3 separate regions of the Homo sapiens genome follow, and all the other regions are linked to region 2. The links are contacts of gene promoters, found by promoter capture Hi-C in human tissues and cell types (Jung and others, 2019). All regions are on one chromosome and are shown on one strand. Each heading gives the region's core, a stretch centred on a gene start or on the middle of the fragment in contact. The rest is flanking DNA. Distances are from core to core; before and after follow the strand shown. Region 1 holds the start of TPM2 (tropomyosin 2). Region 2 holds the start of CCL27 (C-C motif chemokine ligand 27). Region 3 overlaps GBA2 (glucosylceramidase beta 2).

Region 1 (4,034 bases), core at 366-2,865, 1.0 Mb before region 2:
AGAGGCCAGCCCAGACCGACCCGAGGAGGAACCTCCTTGGTAGAAGGCAGCCTCTCCAGGATTAGGTGGTTGTGAGACGCGAAGGGCAGGGGATACCCAGTGGTCTAGCATAGGCTACTGGTGGATGAGGCGTCTTCCACGGAGTTAGAGGAACACTGCGAGGTCAGGCCAGGGTTGCTCTCCGTGTGGCTAGCAGGCAGCTAAACAGATCTGAATGCATTTCCACGCCACCTCCCCACCGCCCCGGCCAGCGGCCTCGGGTTCCCACGGTCCCCAGCCCACTGCAAAATCCAGGCCTCCCGCCCCTCTATGACTGGAGGGTGGGGGCGAGGCTAGCAGCTCCCTCCCGGCTTCCTCCGCTTGTTCTCTCCTCCCCTTCCCCCTCCTCCCGGCGGCTCTCCACTTCCTTTCCCCCCACCCCACCCCAGGGAAAAACGAAAACAAACACCCTCGCGCCTCGCGCCTCCGACTCCCAGACCCCACGACCCGGCTCCGGCGCTGGTTTGGCGGCCTGGGTGGGAGAAGGCACCTCGCCCCGGACCCCCTATGCCCCGCAGCTCAGTGACTCTTCCCCTCGCCCTCCGCCTTCCCCGCCGCAGCCCGGCTCCGCCTCCCAATGGGGAAACATCCCAAAAAAGGGCAGAAAAGAAATTTCAGCATAAAGTTGGCCCACTGGGAAAGAGAGGAGCGTCCGCGGGGAGCGGGGGAGAAGAGGGAAGGCGCGCGGAGGGGAGTGGGGCCAGGCGGAGCCAGGGGCGGGGAGCGGAGGGGCTCGGGACGCGTCCGGGTGGGAGCGGGGGCGGGGAACGCGCGGTGACCAGCCTGGCCGCAGCCGCGTGGAAAATATGCGGGGCACGTGGGGGGCGGGGCGGGGAGCTGGGTCCTGAGCCGCCGGGTGCTCGCAGGAAGGGCCTGGCTCCAGGGGCAGGGGCTGGGAGGGGAGGCGAGGGGATGAGAGGTCAGGCCGGTCCTGGGGGCAGCAAGCCCGGCCACACTCCCCACCGCGACCGGGGCTCTGGGCTCGCTTCCTGCTTCAGTTTCCCCAAGCTCCCGATGAGACTCCGCTACTACCACCACGTCGATAACGCAAACCTAGAGGGACTCAGGGTAAACTGAGGCACTCAAACTGCCGAGGAGCTCCGCCTCCCGAGAGACATTTAATCCGGGGGGATTTGCAGGAAACTTCTAAATTAAGGGTAGCGGCTGCTGCAGCTGAGGGGGGGCACGCCGGTCCCTGCGCCCGGGCAGCTGCCGTGAGCTCACGCCCCGAAATAGCCCCAGGGGCCCCAGCCGCAGCTGCCACTGGGTCCGGCTGTCACTCAGAGGAAGCACGGAGCCCCCAGCCCAAGGGTCCCCTCCCCTTCGCATCGCCGGGGTTTTTCCAGCCGACCGTCGGCCACTTTTTCCTCCGACGGCTGGCAGGGAAGAGGGGGATGGGGGCGGGACCCCAAGGGAGGCGGTCCCCAGTGGGTGGGCGAAGGGGGCGGCCGCACCCCCCGGCCGGGCCGTGCTTCTGCCCCTACAAGGTTTGGGCCGAGGTGGGGGAGGGTCCTGGTTGCCGGCCCCGCCCGGTCCCTCCCCGCCTTTTAGGCGCCCGCGTGGCCGGGACGTCCCAGTCCCGCTCCGTCCTCCTCGCCTGCCACCGGTGCACCCAGTCCGCTCACCCAGCCCAGTCCGTCCGGTCCTCACCGCCTGCCGGCCGGCCCACCCCCCACCGCAGCCATGGACGCCATCAAGAAGAAGATGCAGATGCTGAAGCTGGACAAGGAGAACGCCATCGACCGCGCCGAGCAGGCCGAAGCCGACAAGAAGCAAGCTGAGGACCGCTGCAAGCAGGTTAGGGCCGGGCCCAGTGCAGCCTGCTCTCCCCGCGCCTAGGGCAAGGGTGGGCCGCTGCCATGGGTCCCCCAGCCCCGGGCCTGCCCGCCAAGGCTCTCTCTCACCCAGGGTGGGGGCTGGGCCTTCGCAGTACCCTCAGGGCCTTCGCCAGAGCCGCTTCTCTCCCCTACAATAGCCTGGGGAAGCCCCAGGCCCCTGGTTTCCACTCTGCCTTTGCAGAGCGCGGTTGGTCCTGCTCCTTGGGGCCTGAAGTTTTCTCTGTACCCTCAACGGGTCCCACCAGTACCCTTGACTGTACTGTCCCTTTTATGTTATTCCGCTTCCATCCCAGTAGCCTCCAAATCTTAGTAGCGCCCCTACACACACCGCGTCTCCATTCTGGGCCTGGGCCCCCTCCCAGCCTGGCTGACCAAGTCCCCTCTGTCCCAGCTGGAGGAGGAGCAGCAGGCCCTCCAGAAGAAGCTGAAGGGGACAGAGGATGAGGTGGAAAAGTATTCTGAATCCGTGAAGGAGGCCCAGGAGAAACTGGAGCAGGCCGAGAAGAAGGCCACTGATGTGAGTGTGGACTTGGGGGACAATGGGAGGAGTTAGGGCTCTGGGAAGGGGCCCCCCGGGTATGGGAATAAGAGGATTGGGGCACCTTATCCCCTTATGTCCCCAGCGCCAGGAGAGAAATGGTTTCATCTCAGTAACCAGGGCTAGGGTAAACTTACACAAGTAATCCAAGACAGTGGATAAATCAAAACCACCTACCACTTCCCCCAGAGGACTTAGCCCTGTAATTCTGTTTGGTTCCAGCTTTTAGAATGTACAGTGATCAAGCAATGAGTCATTGTGGGGGTGGAAGGTATAAGAATTTACCATCTACCTCAATTAATCCTCCAGCTGAAATTGGAGAGGAGACTGCAGCCGTTTGGGGATGGGGGGATGTGGATGTGAGGTACTAGCCTGCAGGAGGAGGGAGAGGGATCCAGAGATGAGACCCCACTTGAGTTACAACCCTAAGGGGCCATTAGAAATTCCCTGGCCTTGACCTCTGGCTTCAGCAGCCCTGCTGTGCCCTGGGGCCCCAGCTCAGGTTCTAATGGCTCCTCATTTACCCTCATTAAGCTGTCAGCCTGGAGACCATGCCAGGCCACAGGGCAGAGGGACAGGGCCACAAATGCCAAAGCAGCTACCTTGGCAGGTCATTTACCCTGAGATTTCTCTGCCCACCCCACAACCCCAACCAGACTTCACTTCCTGCCATTCCCAACCCCCAGCTTAAGGTAGGAGAATGGCCATATGGCTTTGGTGTGGTGGTAGTTTCCCCATTCTCTGCCTCAGTTTCCCCATCTTCCTTCCACCCAGGATTGTTTTAAGATGAACCTATGGTTAGATTAGCATAAAGCATGGTCTGAACATCAGAGATGACATAGCTGTTTGTGTCGACTGCTCATGTTCCCAGCCCCCCAGGGGTTGGGCTTCTGTGACCTCCAGCCTCCAGTTTTGGTTCTCCACCAGTCCTGGCACTTGGGAGGGAGCTGACCTGCAGCTGCTAGCACAGACAACCCTGGGCATCTGACACTCTATAAATAACCAAGGCCCAGTGCAGCTGGAGGCAAGATTGGAAACCCAAGTTGCTGGTGGGGGCTGGAGGGGCAGGGGGGACAGGGACAGAGCTGGGGAGGCAGAGCCGCAGCACCAGGAGCAGATAGGAAAGACTGCCCAAGCTTCCTGGTGACCTTGAACACAGCACTCAACTTACATGGTGCCTCAGTTTCTCCCTCTCTCTTGCTTCCCATTTTTCTAATGGGGACAGTAGTGCCTGTCCTGTGGTTAGAGAGCCGCCCCCGTAACTGGGAAGAGCTTGAGAGGCAGGAAATGGCACATATCAGTCCCATGATGAGGACCCCAGGACTTCCCAAACTTTCCAGAGTCTTTTGTCACCCCACCATCATGCAGAGTTTTTCTTTTACAGTCTCACCTCTCTCTAGGGTAGTACTCCAATGTCCCCCACAGTGATTCTTCCCAACCCCCAATGCTGTCCCCAGAATGCTTCCACACTGTCATCCGGCCCTGTGCCCATGATGGGCTCTTGTCACTCTAGGTGGCCAAGCTCCAGGTGCCTTCAGCACCTGGAAGACAAGCTACCATCTACTCTCTATATATGGTGCTGTTTCTCCTGCCCTACAGTCCGACCAAGGACCTGCTTC
Region 2 (4,366 bases), core at 1,756-4,255:
ACATGTCGGGAATGAGGAGATACGAGGTGGCGCTGGAGGCGGAGGAGGAGTGAGTGGAGGCGGGTTCTGCGGAGGAGGAACCAGGCGGCTCCGGGGTGGGGGAGGGTGGAGTTCTGCGGGGGCGAGGGGTGGGCAGGGCGAGCCTCCCAGGGGCGTGGGCGCGAAGGGAGCCGCTTTTAGAGGCGGGGCGGAGCCTTCCTCGACGGCGAGGCACCGCGGGGCGGAGTCTGTAGGGTCAGCTCCTCCCCGCCCCGCCCCGCCCCGCCCGGCTCTGCCCTCTCTCTGCAGGATCTACTGGGGCTGTTTCTACTTTTTCCCCTGGCTTCGCATGTGGCGGAGGGAGCGGAGGTGAGGAGGCTGCGATACCGCGGACCCGCCCCGGGCATGGACGGGACTCAGTCTCTGAGGACCCATCGGGGGGAATCCGGTAGCTCCCGCCCCGCCTCATGCCAGTGTCGGGTCGCCCCACAGCTCGGCGCACCCCGGGGAGCAGAAGCTGGAGCCTCTGCGAGGCCTGATGAGCTGTCTGTCCAGCGGCCTGGGTCCTACTCCCCAGCGCTCGGGTCGTGGCTTCCCCCGCCGCAGCCCCACCGCCGCTGCCCAGCCAGCCAGTGCATTAAAGATTTAAACCGAAGCCCACCGTACTGACCTCCTGACTCTGCCGCCGCTGTCGCCATTCGAGCCGAGCGCCCCTCCCCACACGGGCTCTGTTCCGTACTGACAGGGCGTCCCTCCCTGGAAGGGTGCCCTTCCACGTCAAAGCCCCTCATCAGTGTCAGGCCTCCTGTTACTATCAATGGCTGTCTCCCCCAATCCCAACCCCCAAAAACCCATACTGTGAGTCGCCTATATGAAGAGAACTAAATAATCCTGCCTGTTACTCCCTTCCTCGGAGCGAGGACTTTGCCAGCTGTCTGAAGAATCTTCTCTGCTGGGAGTATATCTAAAACATTTTAAGCAGAGGTGTAGGATGCAGGCTGTAAATGGTAAGAGGGGGAGATTCCTAGAAGCTGCCTGCCACAGAGGAGCGACTTGGGTTGGCGACCTTTCCTACAGTTCATACCCCAACTTTTGGCTCCTCCAGTCTGATCCCAAGTTTAGAGATCCTTGGCATCAGCCTACCTAGAAGTTCTTGCTCCCTCCCTAGGAGAGTCCAAGGGCCACTGCTCTTTGCCGCCCCCTTCTGTCACCCAATCAGCCTGGGACCCACTAACTCCTCAAGTGGTGAGAATCAGGGACTGCTATGTGGGCCTGCCTTCAGTTAGGGACTGGACCCAGCACCAGAAAGGGCACCACAAGATTAAGTTAAAGAAAGAGATGGCCCAGTTTCTGGCTGGGGCCAAAGCTACAGCAGATTGTGGCTGGGGAGAAGACTTGGTCTTAAAGGGGAGAGATGGGTGCACACCCAAAAGCATTTGTTTTCTGCCTTCCGAAGACTTCTGGACCGACAAGCCCAGGGAAGACCAGAAAGTATGTAGCGCACAGCCAAGTGATGAAGAAGGTCTATGACAAGCCCGAGGAACCTGGGAGATTTCCTTGGGATTTCCTCAGTGGCTACACCCAACAAGCCTTGGGACACAAGAGAAAGGCCTAAGCCCTATCCCAAGAGAAAGCCTACTCCATAGAGAGTGGCTGACCCTACAGCAGACGACTGCAACAAGATAAGGGCTGGATTACTGTGTTATGACTTGGTTTATGTTTCAAATATAGAGCAGGACTTGCAGATTGAGATCCCTGGACCAGGAGTGGGAAATTCTTAAAGGAGCCAGGGGCACTGAACTTGGCAGCATACCCCCACCCTAGGCAGCTCCCAGCTTCCTGGAAAGGACTGGATAAAGATGAATAGGAGCTTTGCATTGCAGGGAGGGGGTAAAGAACGGAGTGACAGCTGGGTATGGGATTAGGAGAGAAGCGGCTATAGCTGGAGGGTGGGATGCAGGGGGTATAGCAGTTGGACATGAGGGTGTGACTGAACCCGGGTAGGGAGAGGGGATGTTCCTCCAGGCCCAGGAAGGAGGCTGGAATTTGAGTAAAACAAAGATGTAATTGAGTGCTTGAGTCCAATGTCTTCAACAAGTCAGGGACTGGATCTGGAGACCCTAGGCCCCTGCTGGCAAGAGGTTGGCATTCCTGGAACAGGACTAGACAAAAACAGGAAGGTAAGATTCACTGGGCCTTTTACCTGTTTTGACAACAGTAACCTAGCACCAAAGAGCTTTTATCTTCCCTCCTTATCTACCCCACCTTTCCTCCCTGTCTCATCATCCTGGGGAAAGCTGCCCCACCTCAGCATCTCCAAAACACCCTTAATATTACCATAAAGGGCCTTCCCCCAGCTTCTCTGAATGGGGCTGGCCTCAGCCAAGAACCCTCCTCAGCCAGAAGGGCCTGCTCTAGGGACCCATTCCCATCCATTTCTTCTGATAAGACAGGCAGGCCAAGCCAGGAAGTGGGGAGGAGAAGGTGAAGGCAAGTTGGTGCTTGCCTGCCCTCTGCTCCCACCCCACCCACAACTCCCCTGTCAGAATCTGTGTGTGCTAGTGTGAATTTGCTTGTGATTGGATGACTGTGAAAACACAATTGGGTGGGAGAGGGACTTTGAGTATAACCGGGGCTATATAATTTTGTCTACGGTTGTCTGATCATGAGTATGACTTTGTGAGGTTGACCAAGTGATTGAGGAGTGACTTTGAATGTGTGGCTATGCGTATTTGAGTGTGAATGTCTATCATTAGATGCTGCTGTGGATGCTTGACTGCCCTTACTCACTGTTCCATCAGTCCCTACATCACACACTAATCCTTCCCCCAGCTTCACTGCCCAGAGCTTAGGAGCACATGGGAAATGGCTATCCTAGATGAGGAAGGAGTCTGTGGCAACAGGCCGAGAATTAGGGCCCAGGAGTGTCACAGGTTACACAGTACATCTCCAACTGCCTCTGACTCACCTAGTGCCCCAGGTAAAAGGCACCCAGATAAAAGGTAGGGGAGGAGGAGAGAGAGAGAAGGAAGAGTCTAGGCTGAGCAACATGAAGGGGCCCCCAACCTTCTGCAGCCTCCTGCTGCTGTCATTGCTCCTGAGCCCAGACCCTACAGCAGGTGAGTACTTGGGGGTATAGAAAGCTGGGGGTCTGGGTGAATGGGATGAAGTTGAAAAGACCCAGGAAATCCAACCTAACCTCCAGCTGTCTGGCAGAGAGGTTCTTGGTCAGGATCCCTCTGAACACATGGCCCTGTTGCCCCTAGCATTCCTACTGCCACCCAGCACTGCCTGCTGTACTCAGCTCTACCGAAAGCCACTCTCAGACAAGCTACTGAGGAAGGTCATCCAGGTGGAACTGCAGGAGGCTGACGGGGACTGTCACCTCCAGGCTTTCGTGTGAGCTCCCACCCCTGATACCCCTGACTCTGACCTCAGTCCCAACCCCTAATGCTGATCCCAACCCCAGCCCTAACTGCTAATTCTGTTGCCAACTCAGGTTTTCATCTGGTCCTTGCTCCTAACCCCTAATTAGGGTCATTGGGGATGACCCTAATCTCATCCCCAAGCTATGGTCATAGCTTTGGACCTTTCTCTACCCAGGCTTCACCTGGCTCAACGCAGCATCTGCATCCACCCCCAGAACCCCAGCCTGTCACAGTGGTTTGAGCACCAAGAGAGAAAGCTCCATGGGACTCTGCCCAAGCTGAATTTTGGGATGCTAAGGAAAATGGGCTGAAGCCCCCAATAGCCAAATAATAAAGCAGCATTGGATAATAATTTCTGAGTATAATCTCCAAGAACTTCCTTATTCTCTTTATTCACACCTGCACAACCCCTGCAAGGGGAAAGGCCAAGAGCCAAGGACCCACACACACTCCCCAGGCACCTACATACATGCATGCAGAGAATACATGTTCCCTGCCTCACAGACACATGGTCACACATGGACACAGATGTACACATTACACACGTTCCTTGAGCAGAACTCCAACTCTGGGGTGAAATCAGAGGTACAAGCACCTTTCAGCTGCAAATTTGAAATACAGGGTCTCACAGAAATGGGCTCCAAACAGAACTTCCAGCTGAGATCCAACCATAGGGATCTACTGTCCTGCCTGGTTTCTATCCACACCAGCAAGACAGAATTATAGGTGGAATCTGCCGAAGCCCTCCTGGGTCCTCTACAGGTTTGGAGCTCCTAGAAGAAGCAGGAGGCAAATCAGGAGAGACAGTAAGACCGGATCTTGGCCCAGACACCCTGAGAATGAGGGAGGTGACTCAGTTCTAAGCTTAACACTCTGAAGATGAGTAGAGGAGCCCAGCTCTGAGGGAGCCTCTTCAACACACTGAAGATACGGGAGTGGACCTAGCTCTGGGCCCAGGC
Region 3 (4,648 bases), core at 1,746-4,245, 1.1 Mb before region 2:
TTTATTGCCCTGAAGAGACTGGCGGCACCAAGGATGTGCAGGTTACAGACTGTAAGAGTCCCGAAGACAGCCGACCCCCAAAAGAGACGGACTGCTGCAATCCGGAGGACTCTGGGCAGCTGATGGTTTCCTATGAGGGTAAAGCTATGGGCTACCAGGTGCCTCCCTTTGGCTGGCGCATCTGTCTGGCTCATGAGTTTACAGAGAAGAGGAAACCCTTTCAAGCTAACAACGTCTCCCTAAGCAACATGATAAAGCATATAGGCATGGGCTTGAGGTGAGTAGACCCCATTGCCTAGAATGCCTTTGGCTTCACTTTGTTCCAGCTCAAAACTTCTAGCAGAGGTGGGAAAGGGCAAGAAAGCAGTTGGGCTTCTTGTCTGAGTGAAGCGGTCCCTATCCCTGGCATATTTTAGGCCTGTGGTTTTGGACCGTGAGACCAGGTCACATCTCTTTGCAACACCCTTCCCTCCCAGTGTTTTGTCTTTTCAGAAGGAAAGGGTAGGAACATTTGGTCATGCAATCAGCCTTTCCCATTCAGGCTCTTCTCACATACTGGTTTCCAATGACTTCCCTTTGGGATTAGCTATACTTTGTGGCAAGGTAGGAAAGGATAATCTGGCTGCTGTGATACTAACACAATGTTGTTTTATTTGGGGGTGGGGGGGTCTCAACCCCTTATTTCCCACAAGCAGCTGGGGCATTCTCTGTACCTCATTAGACACACTGTTAGAGTCCCAACACTACTGCTTCTTTCTTCAAGCTTTAGCTCCAGGGAGTAGGTAAGAAGAGCCTCCCTGCCCTCACCTCTGAAGTGATGAGAAGGTGCTGTCATTCTGTTCTGGGATAGAGAGCTCTTGATATTAAGTCATTTATCAGAGAGGCACTGCCATAGATGTAGAACCCATCTAGATCCCCACTGAGTTCAAAGACTAGTGATGAGGAGCCAGACCCATTAACAGGAACAGGTGGATGTGAGGACAGAAAGCATCACCCTGAGGTCATCCTGACTCAGTCTACACAATACACACAGAACTGTGGAGGGAGGCATAAAGCTTGGGAAACCCTGCCCTTACAGTTTCTAGAGTAGGAGACCCTTCATTTCCCCAGTCAGTGCTGTGGGGCTGTGATGGGGAGATCAGTTATCTAACCCTAGCCCTGGGGAGTGGGAAGGGCCTGATGCTGCCTGCACATCTGGCTTTGTTGGTGCCTGTGGGTAGCCTGTAGCAGAGAAGAATCATCCCTCCAGGCTGCTTCTGGAATCAATTCAGTCCAAGTTTGACCCCAAAAGTTTTTGCATCAAAATAGGATCTAGTGTACATAGAGAAGTACACTGAGTTGCATGTGGTAGGAACAATGAGATCAAGAAAAGATGGGCATCCTAGCCTCTTAGCCCTTAAATATGAACTGAGTCATAGAGGCCTGAAGCTGTGCTCAACCCCCTGGACCCTGGCTCCCCATTCCAGGATAGAGTGGGGGGTACTGATACAAGGCTTTTGGAATAGGATGAGTTCCTATGAGGAGAAAGCACAGGTGAGACAAGAATTCTAAGTGATAACTCTTGAGTTGAGGTTGAAATTGTGGAGAAGGCCAAATAGGTCAGGAATGGCCAGCTACCATATTAAGGGAGTAAGAGAGCTCCTAAGATGGAGCTGAACTGTGGGCACTCTGACCAGGAGCTCTAGCAAGACAGAATTCTCTGGGTCTTACCTTCGTAAGAACTCAATTTCAATTGTTCTCCCTTCCAGCCAGAGTCCACTCATTCAATAAATATTTATTGAGTGCTTGTTCCATGCCAGATAGTCCTTTGTTCTGTCTGTCCTCATAGATTGCAGTTACTCTCCCTGGTTGCCCTAATCCTCGGCCACACCCTCCCTCTACCAGTCCTTTCTGGTCTCTAGTTTCAAAGTCCGGTTTTCTCTAAGCTGGCAGAGAGGATTCTCTGCCTTCCTGTCATCCCATCCTTTGTCTTCCCTCTTCTTTCCACCCCTAGAATGTGCTGTCCCTTTTTATTTTATTATTATTTTTTTTTTGAGACAGTCTTGCTCTTGTCACCCAGGCTGGAGTACAATGGTGCAATCTCAGCTCAGTGCAACCTCCGTCTCCTGGGTTCAAGCGATTCTCCTGCCTCAGCCTCCTGAGTAGCTGGGATTGCAGGTGCCTGCCACCACAGCTGGCTAATGTTTTTGTATTTTTAGTAGAGACGGGGTTTCACCACATTGGCCAGGCTGGTCTTGAACTCCTGACCTCACGTGATCCGCCCACCTCGGCCTCTCAAAGTGCTGGGATTACAGGTGTGAGCCACCGTGCCTGGCCGCTGTCCCTATTCATTAATCACATTTCTTCTCCTCTGCTCCAGTCTGTTATCTCTCTTGTGCCCCATCATTTGTATGTTCATTCATCTGTAAAATTGGCAAATATGCATTGACTGCAGACCATATGTCCTACCCTGTGCTTGGACCTGAGGGTAATATTCAGCTAGTCTTTGTCATTGTCCCTTTCCCCAAGGAACTTAAAAGTATGTCAGCCTCACATGAGGAACATTGAAATAACAAGGCAATGTCTGATTAGGAATTGAGATAACAGTTTGTATATATGAGTAATAATCATACCTGTACTTTATGGCTTTCTTATCTATTATGTCATTTGATCTTTCAACCATTTCATTAGATAGCTAGAGCAGGTGGTATCCCCATTTTGTAGATGAGGAAACTGGGACTTAGGGGTTACTTACCCAATTATTTGGTTAGAAGTGGTGTGACTGAACAGTAGGCATAATGTGGCAGTAGGCAGGAGAGTGGAAATGGGAAAGAGTCTGGCAGGGCAGGGGCTACTTAGTGAGGACCCATCTGGAATGAGAATTTGTAGGAAATAAGATTAGAAGATAGGCTGGGACAGATGTCAGAGCCTTGAAAACAGAATCGTTTGCCTATTGAAAACAGCCTCAATCATTTGCCTCTTGGATATAGGGCTGTACCAAGCCCAGGAAAATGTTGGGATTTTTTGAAGGCTTTACCAAGAGCAAAATCAGAAAGCTTCACAGTTTAAATGTTGAATTTAAAAAAAAAAAAAAAAAAGGCTTGAGAGGAAATGTCCAGAAATAAATATAAACACTGATTGTCTATGGGTGAGATTATTTTTTTCCCCCTTTCACCTTTCATAATTAGAAAGAAAAATGATCATTTTAAAAAGAAGAAAGGCCAGAAGCGGTAGCTCACGCCTCTAATCCCAGCACTTTGGGAGGCCGAGGCGGGCGGATCACCTGAGGTCAGGAGTTCAAGACCAGCCTGGCTAACATGGTGAAACCCCATCTCTACTAAAAACACAAAAAAATGTGCCAGGCATGGTGGCGGGCACCTGTAATCCCAGCTACTTGGGAGGCTGAGGCAGAAGAATTTCTTGAACTTGGGAGGCGGAGTTTGCAGTGAGCCAAGACCGAGCCACTGCACTCCAGCCTGGACAACAAGGAACGAAACTCTGTCTCAAAAAAAAAATAATAAATAATAAAAATAAAGATAAGAAAGTTATTCCCAGCAGCCTATGCCTGTTTTGGAGGTAGGGGATTGGGGGCGGAGGCTGTAGGCCAGGAAACCATAAATGGTCCTTTCAGCACGTCAGACAGAAGCTCCTGATGTTGGAAATAAAGCAGTGGTGGTGGTGCTAGAGAGGTAAGGAGAGATCAGAAAGCCCCTTCTGAGGAGAACAAAGGAGAGAAACAAAGCCACTCCTTCACTTCAGCTGGGGTGACTGGGAAGATGAAGGGACCTTGAACTGTATAGAAATCAAGAGGAAGAAAGGTTTGAAAGCAGATGTCCTTGGGACATTTAATGGGAGGTCACAGAGAGAGGCAGGTGACTCAGCCTGTGAACAGCTGCCCACCTGCCCCCTTCCACTCACATTGCCTCTTGCTCCTCAGGTACCTGCAGTGGTGGTACCGGAAGACCCATGTGGAAAAGAAGACACCTTTCATCGACATGATCAATTCTGTACCCCTAAGACAGATTTATGGTGAGCCCCACCCCATCTCTGCTCTGCTCAGAGAAGGCCTAGCCTCCAGGTCTACCACAGTTAGGAAGAGACTTCCAGCTTATGCAAATTGCACTGTTCCATCCCCTAGGTTTTCAGAGGAACCAGGCTTTATAGTCTAGAAAGTTAGAAATGGGCTTATTTTCCTCTCCCAATACCCCACTAACCACCCTGATTTCTCTAGGTTGTCCCTTGGGTGGCATCGGGGGAGGCACTATTACCCGTGGCTGGAGAGGCCAGTTCTGTCGTTGGCAGCTTAACCCTGGAATGTATCAGCACCGGACAGTCATCGCTGACCAAGTAAGAGCCAGGAGGTGGAGAGGCCAGGACAATACCTCCCCAGGCCAAGAAGGAAGGACCTCTTGGCTAGTGTAGAAGGTAGCAGTTAGATGTGAATAAGATTCAATCTAATAAGTACTCTCGGGATGCTTCCTGTGTGCCCAGCCCTGAGCTAGGATATACCGTAGGAATAAGACACACACAAGCACACATTCCTTGAAAGAGTAAACAGATCTGGCATTTCTCTAGTAAATGCCTCCTGTCTACCTCACTGCCCCAACCCAACTAGCTGAGGCAGCCCCCAACCACAGAGAATGCAGAGAATTCCCAAATCACTTAACCT

What was found. Contacts are between HindIII fragments. The study calls those that stand out against the background at their distance.
Region 1: the fragment with the promoter of TPM2 here is called in contact with the fragment with the promoter of CCL27 in region 2 in 1 of the 25 tissues and cell types used here (stomach).
Region 3: a contact is called between a fragment that was not itself captured here and the fragment with the promoter of CCL27 in region 2, in 1 of the 25 tissues and cell types used here (dorsolateral prefrontal cortex).

Annotation. Positions count from the first base shown.
Region 1 is chr9:35,687,506-35,691,539 of GRCh38, reverse strand. TPM2 (tropomyosin 2) reads left to right here and starts at 1,615. Exons shown (of 9, transcript NM_003289.4): 1 at 1,615-1,836; 2 at 2,269-2,394. The coding sequence starts at 1,723. RefSeq lists a silencer at 198-277 and an enhancer at 3,173-3,650. The HindIII fragment of the contact is 5,966 bases long and covers 1-4,017 here.
Region 2 is chr9:34,661,296-34,665,661 of GRCh38, reverse strand. It overlaps CCL27 (C-C motif chemokine ligand 27), which reads left to right and starts at 3,005. Exons shown (of 3, transcript NM_006664.4): 1 at 3,005-3,098; 2 at 3,246-3,378; 3 at 3,583-3,772. The coding sequence starts at 3,029. The coding sequence ends at 3,718. IL11RA (interleukin 11 receptor subunit alpha) reads right to left here. Exons shown (of 13, transcript NM_001142784.3): 13 at 3,760-4,180. The coding sequence ends at 4,164. LOC730098 reads left to right here. Exons shown (of 3, transcript NM_001320038.2): 1 at 1-49; 2 at 289-348; 3 at 472-1,499. The coding sequence starts at 3. The coding sequence ends at 628. It also overlaps a transcript of PHF24 not described here. RefSeq lists a silencer at 43-292. The HindIII fragment of the contact is 14,352 bases long and covers 1-4,366 here.
Region 3 is chr9:35,743,975-35,748,622 of GRCh38, reverse strand. It overlaps GBA2 (glucosylceramidase beta 2), which reads left to right. Exons shown (of 17, transcript NM_020944.3): 1 at 1-277; 2 at 3,917-4,008; 3 at 4,211-4,326. Among named protein-coding and RNA genes, the nearest start is that of GBA2, 2.9 kb to the left of the region's middle. The HindIII fragment of the contact is 5,426 bases long and covers 283-4,648 here.